Regions from separate parts of the Homo sapiens genome. Here regions 2 and 3 are each linked to region 1. Evidence: promoter capture Hi-C in human tissues and cell types (Jung and others, 2019). All regions are on one chromosome and are shown on one strand. The core of a region is centred on a gene start or on the middle of the fragment in contact, and the rest is flanking DNA. Distances in the headings are between cores, read along the strand shown.

Evidence for each region. Contacts are between HindIII fragments. The study calls those that stand out against the background at their distance.
Region 2: a fragment that was not itself captured here is called in contact with the fragment with the promoter of NSUN2 in region 1 in 1 of the 25 tissues and cell types used here (dorsolateral prefrontal cortex).
Region 3: a contact is called between a fragment that was not itself captured here and the fragment with the promoter of NSUN2 in region 1, in 1 of the 25 tissues and cell types used here (dorsolateral prefrontal cortex).

The regions. Positions count from the first base shown.
Region 1 is chr5:6,631,417-6,634,451 of GRCh38, reverse strand. NSUN2 (NOP2/Sun RNA methyltransferase 2) reads left to right here and starts at 1,408. Exons shown (of 19, transcript NM_017755.6): 1 at 1,408-1,568; 2 at 1,696-1,853; 3 at 2,475-2,579. The coding sequence starts at 1,473. SRD5A1 (steroid 5 alpha-reductase 1) reads right to left here and starts at 1,012. Exons shown (of 5, transcript NM_001047.4): 1 at 583-1,012. The coding sequence starts at 875. RefSeq lists enhancers at 289-800, 801-1,312 and a silencer at 776-1,165. The HindIII fragment of the contact is 6,073 bases long and covers 1-3,035 here.
Region 2 is chr5:7,735,462-7,738,496 of GRCh38, reverse strand. All of the region lies in intron 14 of ADCY2 (adenylate cyclase 2), which reads right to left. Among named protein-coding and RNA genes, the nearest start is that of CFAP90, 110 kb to the left of the region's middle. The HindIII fragment of the contact is 7,857 bases long and covers 1-3,035 here.
Region 3 is chr5:5,616,108-5,619,142 of GRCh38, reverse strand. No RefSeq gene overlaps it. Among named protein-coding and RNA genes, the nearest start is that of ICE1, 190 kb to the right of the region's middle. The HindIII fragment of the contact is 3,939 bases long and covers 1-3,035 here.

The DNA.
Region 1 (3,035 bases), core at 159-2,658:
ATTAGACTCTAGGCCAACCCCCTCCCCCCCGCCCCCACAGTCGTGATCTAAGGGAACAAAATCTAGTCTTCATTTTTATTTTACATTTTTACTTTTTAACTCTTTATTTTTATATATTTAATTTTGAGACAGAGTCTCGCTCTGTCACCCAGGCTGGAGGGCAGTGGCGAGATCTCGGCTCACTGTAACCTCCGCCTCTCGGGTTCAAGCGATTCTTCCATCTCAGACTCCCGAGTAACTGGGATCACAGACAGGCGCCACCGCGCCCGGCTAAGGAAACCAAACCTAGGACCACTGAGTGGCTCTTTCCAGATCAGTTTCATCATGTTTTTTTCCATCACTCCCTTCCAGTCCTTTGTTTCCCGCCCTTTCCAGACGAATCCCTTCTGGTTTCCAAACTCCCGGGGCCGGGGGACTCGGGGAAGGGCACCCGTGCAGATGGGGGACGCCCCGGGGGATCTGGCAGGGAGAGGGCATCTGGGTGGGGGAGGCTTCGGGGAGAGGGCACCGGGCAGTGAGGGGAGGGTCGGAGAGGACGCCGGGCCGGGAGTAGGGTAGGGGGCCGGGGGCCGGGGACGTTACCGATGCCCGTAGTGGACGAGGAACATGGCCAGGAGGATGCAGTTGGGCGCGCTGCGGAGACGCGGGGCGGACTCGCTGGCGTACTGGTAGAGCGGCAGGGCCAGCGAGGGCAGCTCCTGCACCACCCAGGCGGCCCGCGCCGGCACTCGGAGCCTGTGGCTGGGCAGCGCGTGGCGGCCGTACACTGAGTTCGTCTGACGATTGCGCGCGAAGACCGCGCAGCCCACGGCGCACTGCAGGTAGGCGAGCGCGGCCAGCAGGCGCTCCTCCGCCACCCCCGTCGCCGTTGCCATCGCCAGGGCTGGGCAGCGTGCTCCATGCCCCAGAGGCCGCGGCGGGCAACATATAGGGCGGCGGCGCGGGGGCAGGAGGGGCGGCTACCGGAGGGGCGGCTACCGGAGTCCCGCACTGCCGGGACTCTGCAGAAAGGGTTCTCAAGTCAGGCTTCTCCGGGGTAGCCGGGGCTGTGGGTGCGGCCCCGGGGGCGGGGCGAGCACTTGCGCGGGGAGGGACCTGCAAGCGCCCCACCCACGCCGGGGCCGCAGTAACCCCGCGCCGCTCTGCGCACGCGCGGCTTCAGGCTGTCCGCGGAGCTCCTTGAGCCCGCGTGGGAAACCTGGGCGCTTCGCGCGGAGACGCCTTTGTGGCTGCTTCCTGGAGCATTTTTTTCCCCTTAGAGCTGTTCGCTGTTTTCCCTGTCACGCCGCTTTTCTGAAAGACGGGTTGTGCGCTTTGGGCTTATTCCTGGACGGTCCCCAAAGGTCCCCGAAAGGACCAGGCCCGGACACGTGGGGCCTTGGTTTCCGGCCGGAAGTCCCGGGAGGTGTAGGGCTAGAGTTCTGGCCGTGGCGGGCCGGTTTCTGCGTGCTGCGTGCGCGGCCGCGTGGGCTATGGGGCGGCGGTCGCGGGGTCGGCGGCTCCAGCAACAGCAGCGGCCGGAGGACGCGGAGGATGGCGCCGAGGGTGGTGGAAAGCGCGGCGAGGCGGTAGGAGCCGGGACCCGGCGGGCGGGCCAGGGGCTCCTCCTGGGCTTCCCGGACCCCGAGGCCTGCGAGGCGGCGGCGAGGGGGCGGCTCCTTGGGCCTCGGGGTAGACGTCTCTTTCCTTCCTCAGGGCTGGGAAGGAGGCTACCCCGAGATCGTCAAGGAGAACAAGCTGTTCGAGCACTACTACCAGGAGCTCAAGATCGTGCCCGAGGGCGAGTGGGGCCAGTTCATGGACGCTCTCAGGGAGCCGCTCCCGGCCACTTTAAGAATTACTGGTTACAAAAGGTAGGGAGGCAGTGCCTGATTTTTTGGGAGTTGGGGCCAGGATGCTGGAGGTTAAAGGCGACGGTGTTTTCTTCGACAAGTGTTACAGTGCCAGAGAACCGTGGCGTTTCAGCGGTTTGGATTCAGGAAGCATTGAGGTGGGGAGCACAGGGTCCAATGAAATGGTCACGGAGGTATTGCAGGCGCAAGGTTAGAAGACGAAATGAAAATGAGATCTGAGGAAGATTCGGCTCCTGGGGAATCTTCCAGGAGGGAAGCTGAGGGTCTTACCTTTTGGAACGTAAGAGAATTTATAGAGAATGCATAAAACCCCTTGGTTCTCCCCTCCTCCGCGCCCCCCCTCCATCTTTGTAGTTACATCTTTCTAAATGAGTCGCAAGTAAAACTTAACGGTAGGATATGCTTAGGAGAGAAGGAATGCAGTGTTGCTCTTAGGGCTCAAACAGTGTGGATTGCTTAAATTTTGAAGGCATACAGTGTAAAAGTAGTGACTAAAGAATGTTTACTCTCCATGCAAAAGTTGGTTTTAGTTTTAAAACACTTGCAGTCTTAAATTTAAGAAGATACAATGTATTAACTTAGTTTTTTAGATCAGTTTGAAACTTCCTTATTTTTCAATAGCCACGCAAAAGAGATTCTCCATTGCTTAAAGAACAAATATTTTAAGGAATTGGAGGACCTGGAGGTGGACGGTCAGAAAGTTGAAGTTCCACAGCCACTGAGTTGGTAGGTACCACAGTGCTTCATGCCGAATATTTATTTGGGATATTAATCTCTATCACTTGAATTATATTTCTTGGTACTGCATTTGCTGTTAAAGAGCTTGGGTATACTTTGCAAACATCCTAATGTTCTAGTACCTGGTGCTTTTATCAACATTATATTGCTACGCAAGTTTTCATGCGATTTGCGATTTGCAGCTTTATGAGTCACTGATTTCAGCCAGCTCTTCCTAGTACATCCAGCCTCTTCCTTTATGTCACCACTTCCGCCAGCTCCCTTTTACAGCCCTTGTTTTCTCACATCAAAACTGTTGCAGAGTGGCTGCTTTGCCTTCAGAAAAAGGACAGACTTAGCTTGACAACAGTCTCCTGGTAGGTAGTCTCTTAGTGTTTTCCATTACAGACAGGTTACCACTGTCTGCTGTCAGGTTGTCTCCTGGTACTTCGCAGTACAGACTGC
Region 2 (3,035 bases), core at 245-2,744, 1.1 Mb before region 1:
TGTCACATTTGTTGCTACTACTTCAAACGTACCATTTTACTATCTGTTTTATATTTGTCTCATTTATTTTTGTTTTTCTGTTCTTCCATTATTATTTTATTAATTAAATATTTAAAAGTATTTTTCATTTCCTCTTGGCTTTTTAGCTATCCTTATTTTATTTTTAGTGATTGCTCAAGGCTTAATACACGCTGTCCTAACTTATCATTAGTTATTTGGCATTAATATTGTGCCACTTCAAAAAATACATGACACAACAATTTAATCCCATTCTCATAAGAATTCTCAGTATATGTCACATGTCATTGTTTTTGCATCAGATCACCTGTTGTCTTTTAGAGACATGAAAAATAAATACATTGTCTTTTATACTCTCTCATAAAGTAAGCATGTCCAATACTTTCCATTCCTTCCTTAGATTCCTTTTTCCTTCTGACATAATTTCACTTTAGCTTGAGGAACTTCCATTAGCATATCTTGTAGGTTTGCTGGTGATGAATTCCCTCTTTTTTTACTTGCAGAATGTATTTCATCTCGACTTTGAAAAGGAATATTTGAGTTGAATGTTTAATTCAGGGTTCATCATGTTCCTATCAGTGGTTTAAAGATGTTCAAGTGTCTTTTGCTTTCCATCATTTCTGATAAGAAGGCAGCCATTTATTCTGTCATTGATCCCTTGTATGTAATGTCTTTTTTTGTGGGTGCATTTAATGTTTTTCTTTTTTCTGGTTTCCAGAAGTGTGACTATAATATGCCACATGTGGTTTCCTTCATATTTATCCTGCTTGATGTTCATAGAGATTCTTGCCTTTGGAGAGTGATGGATTTTAACAAATTTAGGAAAATTTGTCACTAAGTGTGTTGGTAATTTCTTGTTTGCTTTCAAGTATATTTCTATCCATCTCTTAGAGACTTCATTTCACAGACTCTTTGTCAAATGTCTCTAGCTAGTTTGGCCGATGAGAACTGGTGGGAGACTGGAAGGCAATGGAAAGAAAGAGATTGGGTATTTCTTTTACTCTCTACTTAGCAGCCATTTTCTGAATGGCCTGCAACTCCTGCCTTTTCTAAAATTCCAGATCCTTGTCAGACAACACCTTACCTTCGTCTAGCTCTAGCTTTGCATGGTTCTAGCATCTGCAAGAAAGCCCAGGAGCCTGGGTTTCTGCTAACAACACCTCTATCCTGTTTCCTTACAAGTCTAGAGGTGGTAGGAGGTTTCTTCTGTTGCTAATATCATGGCTAGTATACTATCCCCTATTTGGTTTATCAGCTTTTCTCTCATTCTGTAAATACTTCTTTATATTAAATTCCCTTTCGGAAATACCTAAGACAATTTGTTTTCTTTATTGGAGCCTAATCCATTAACTAGATAAAGCTTTCTCTGGGCACTATAATATCATTAATAGTTAGGTAGAAACCTAGGGAAGAACTGTAACAGTGACTTCCCTAAATTCCTTCCTTTTTCTTTTGAAAATAGCAAAAAAAAAGTTTTTACTTGAAGTATTTATCATTAGAAGTATTGAGCAAATATGTATATATTCCTTGGGTTATGCCATACTCTAATTTTTTTTATAAATGGAACAAGGGATTATGGAATTATATTGGCCTTCAATTAAACACATATCAACTGATTTAGAGACAATTATGTGTTAATCTACTAACAAATCATAAGGTTTATTTTGTGAATCAGAGTTTAAATAATGGATTCTTGTACTACAATGAATTATATAGGCCTTTGTTTCCTAAAATGCATTTCAATGTTTCTTTTTTTTTGAATAATTATTCCACCATGAAGAGAGTTGACAGAGACATTCTGAAGTCAGGTCAAATAGACCTAAAAAACAATAAGGGTATTAAAATGTGACTCTTCCTATTTTATAATAATATGCTGGACACAGTGAAGAGCATCCCAGAAGAGTTGTTAACATTTTTTTGTGAATGTATCTGATGACCACTGCTTACTCCTTCCTCAAATGTCAAAATCTATTAAGAGCTGATAAAGGAATAGAGTGTTACTAATAGAGCTGACTATCTGTTTTTGATTTGCTGTAACATATGACATGCCCATTTAAGCAGGGATGATCATTCTTAAGAGTATGTTGTGACACACAAAACTGACTAAAGAAGAAATGAAAAATATAAATAGGCTTACCTATAAAAAGTAAAGAGATTAACTTAGTAATTAAAAAAATCTACTTACAAAGAAAAATTCATGTGCAGATGGCTTCACTGATAAATTTTCCCAAACTTTCATTTCATTTTTAATTTTTTTTTGAGACAGAGTCTTGCTCTGTCACCCAAGCAAGAGTGCAGTGGTGCAATCACAGCTAACTGCAGCCTCTACTTCCCGGGCTACAGCCATCCTCCTGCCTCAGCCTACCAAGTAGCTGGGACCAATAGGCCTGTGCTGCCATGTATGGCCAATTTTTGTATTTTTGGTAGAGAGGGGGTTTTGCCCCTTTGCCCAGGGGTTTTGCCATGTTGTCCAGGCTGATCTCAAACTCTTGAGCTCAAGCAATCCACCTGCCTCTGCCTCTCAAAGTGCTGGGATTACAGGTGTGAGCTAGCATGCCTGGCCCAAAACTTTGAAAGAAGAATTAATATCCATTTTTTACAAACTATTCCATAAAATGGAAGGGAAGGGAACAGTTCTTAACTCGTTCTGAAGCCAGTATCACCCTGACACCAATACCAAAGACATCACAAAAAAAAGTAGAAATCAGTATCTCTTATGAATGTGGATACAAAAATCCTTAACAAAATATTAGTCAATTGAATCCAGCCACAAGTAAAAAGGTTTGTATATCAATACCAAGTGGGGTTTACCCAAGAAATGTAAGGTTGCTTTAATATCTGAATATCAGTCAACCTATTAATAGGTCACATTAATAGAATAGAAGAAAAAACACATTATCATCTCAATAGCTGCAGAAAATGGATTTGAGAAAATCCAAACTATTTCACAATGAAAAAACTCAACAAACTATTAATAAAATGGAATTTCCTTATCTTGATAAAAGGTCACCATGAGA
Region 3 (3,035 bases), core at 349-2,848, 1.0 Mb after region 1:
GAAGTTGCTTTCTATTCTGAGTAGCTTGACTTTGAATGAAATGACTATTTCTTTTCTTCTTTTTCTTTCTTTTTTTTTTTTTTTTTTTTTTTTGAGATGGAGTTTCACTCTTGTTGCCCAGGCTGGAGTGCAATGGCGTGATCTTGGCTCACCGCAACCTCTGCCTCCCAGGTTCAAGCAATTCTTCCACCCTAGCCTCCCCAGTAGCTGGGATTACAGGCATGTGCCACCATGCCCGGCTAATTTTTTGTATTTTTAGTAGAGATGGTGTTTCTTCATGTTGGTCAGGCTGGTCTCGAACTCCTGACCTCAGGTGATCTGTCTGCCACGGCCTCCTAAAGTGCTGGGATTACAGGCATGAGCCACTGCATCCGGCCGAAATAACTATTTTCTAAATTATAGTGGCCTATTTTAAATTTCAAGGTTTCTTGTGCATGTACAAAAAGTGAAGAAATAGCTATTAATAAATGGCTTCATAACAGAAAATCTTTGCAAACAGATGATGCAGATCAATACCATTGGTTGCTTCAAATAGAAAACCAGATCATTATAATTGTTGAATACTTTATGTAATTAATGGAGCCAAAGAAAAGCATTTGGAAGCTTATTTTAATGAAGGTGGAGAAACAGTTTTGTTAATTTCCCTATCGTTAATTGTATATTCAGCTAAAAATTCCACATGGAATATAGAATTATTTGTTTTGTGTAATGATGTGAATACAAATTTCGGTGGAACAAAATATCATGGCAAAAGCAATATTCTTGCTGAATTAAAAATCTATGAATCGGAATCTTACTTGGAATTGGCTATGGTACTTCCATAATTCTTGGTTATATTCAAACCAGCTGAGGTATTCCACTAGTCAAAATAGAAACTTTATTATTTTATGTACAAATTTTTAACATATGCCCAGGCATGGAATAACTAAACCACAGTTTTTGGCTGAAAATGATGTTAAATGCAAAAAGGTATTGATACAACAAACAGTGCTGGGACAATTAGATATTCATGGAGATAAAAACAAACCTTAACCTCTACATTATACTCTATAAAAAAGTTAAGACAGCTTGTAGACTTGAATGGAAGCTGAAACCATAAAGCTTCTAGAACAAAATATGCACTTTCATCTTCAACATAACTCTTAGGACACTAAATAAAGCACTAACCAAAAAAAAAAAAAGCAAAATGATAAATTGAACTTTAGCAAAATTATAAACTCACGCTCTTCAGAAGACATAGCTAAGAAAACAAGAAGGCAAGAGAAGGCAGGGGAAAATATTCACAATATGTATATCTGACAAAGAATATGTATCCAGGGATGAAAATCCAAAAAAAACAAATAGTAAAAACAATCTAATCTTAAAAAGAGGCAAAAGATTTGAAGGAAAACTCACAACAGAAAATATGTGCTGGCCAATAAACCATAGAAAGGAGCTCAGCAATCATGGGTTAGCAGGAAGATGTGTTAGAATCACAATGAAATATCACTTTACACCCACTGCAATGGCTGCCATTAACATGACTGGCAACATCAAGTGTCATCAAGAATTTGGAGCAACTGGATCTCTCATACATTGCTGGTGGGAATGCAAAATATAGGACAATCACTTTGAAAAAGTGATTGGCTGTTTCTCAAAAGGTTAAGTATACTTTCACCATCAACTTAGCAACCTCATTCTGAGGCACATATCTGAAAAAAATCAAAGGATACAACCAGAAATGACTTGTAAAATAATATTTGTATCAGTTTTATTCATTATAGCCAAAAAACTGGAACCCCTCCAATGTCCACCAACAGGAGACTGGATGGAACATTATGCTAAGCAAACAAAGCCAGACATCAAAGAATACATACTTATGATTTATTATTTCATTTGTAAGAAGTTCAATAACAGGCAAAACTAATTTATGGTGATAGAAATCAGAACAGCAGCTGTCTCTGGAGGTGGAGGCAGGACTAGCTAGAGACTAACACAGGGAACTTTCTGAGAAGAGGGAAATACTCTGTCTGATTGGGCTGTGGGTTACACAGGTGTCTCTATCTTTGCCAGGTCTCATCAAATGTATGCTTATGACTTGTATAATTTGATTTAAGTCATACCTCAACAAGAAAGCAAAAGTAGATCAATTTAATAAATGAGGTGTACTGGTTTTCTGCTTTTCTATTTTTGGTGTAATAAATTTTCACAAATTTAATGGCTTGAAACAAAACAAATTTATTCTTTTACAGTTCCAGAGGTCAAAAGTCCAAAATGGGCATTCCTGGCTAAAAATCAAGGTGATGTCAGGGCTGCCTTCCTTTCTGGAGGCTTTGGAAGAGAATGCATTTTCTTATTTTTCTAGCTTTTAGACACTGCCTGTACTTCCTGGCTCCCGGCATTCTTCTTATCTTCAAAGCCAGTCGCAGCCAGTCGAGTCTTTTTCATAGGGTATTACTGCAACTCTGACTCTCCCTCCGTCTTCCGTCTTTAAAGACCTTTGTGATTACACTGGTCCCCGCAGATAATCCTGGATAATCTCCCTCTTACAGTCAGCTGATTAGCAATTTCATCTGCTACCTTAATTCCTCTTTCCACTTAACATAACATATTCACAGGTTCCAGAGATTAGGACATGGACATCCTTGGGGACATTATTCTGCCCACCATGTGGGGTTTGAGGTCAAATAGCGGAAAGCCATCATGGGAGTTTTCACCACAAGGGGCATATCCTGGGAAGGAACTCAAAAATACACTAAATCTTTAAGTTGTGTTTATATGGATATGTTACCTTTAAAAATTAATTAAGGTTAAGCTGCATAGATTAAATGTATGCACTTTAAGTAAAAATATGTCAATAATAATTTTTCAAAACAAAGGTAAGTGCCTGTGATCACTATATTTGTAAATCAGTGAGTGTCCTGAGAAAAGATTGAATGTTTTGACGTCCTCTGAATAATACTGAAAAACTCTAAATCCAAATATTCAGTGAGGCAGGAAAAGAAAACCTCAGCTTTGGAAACTTTTGACAAATTTCAATTATCTAAAACAAAGCT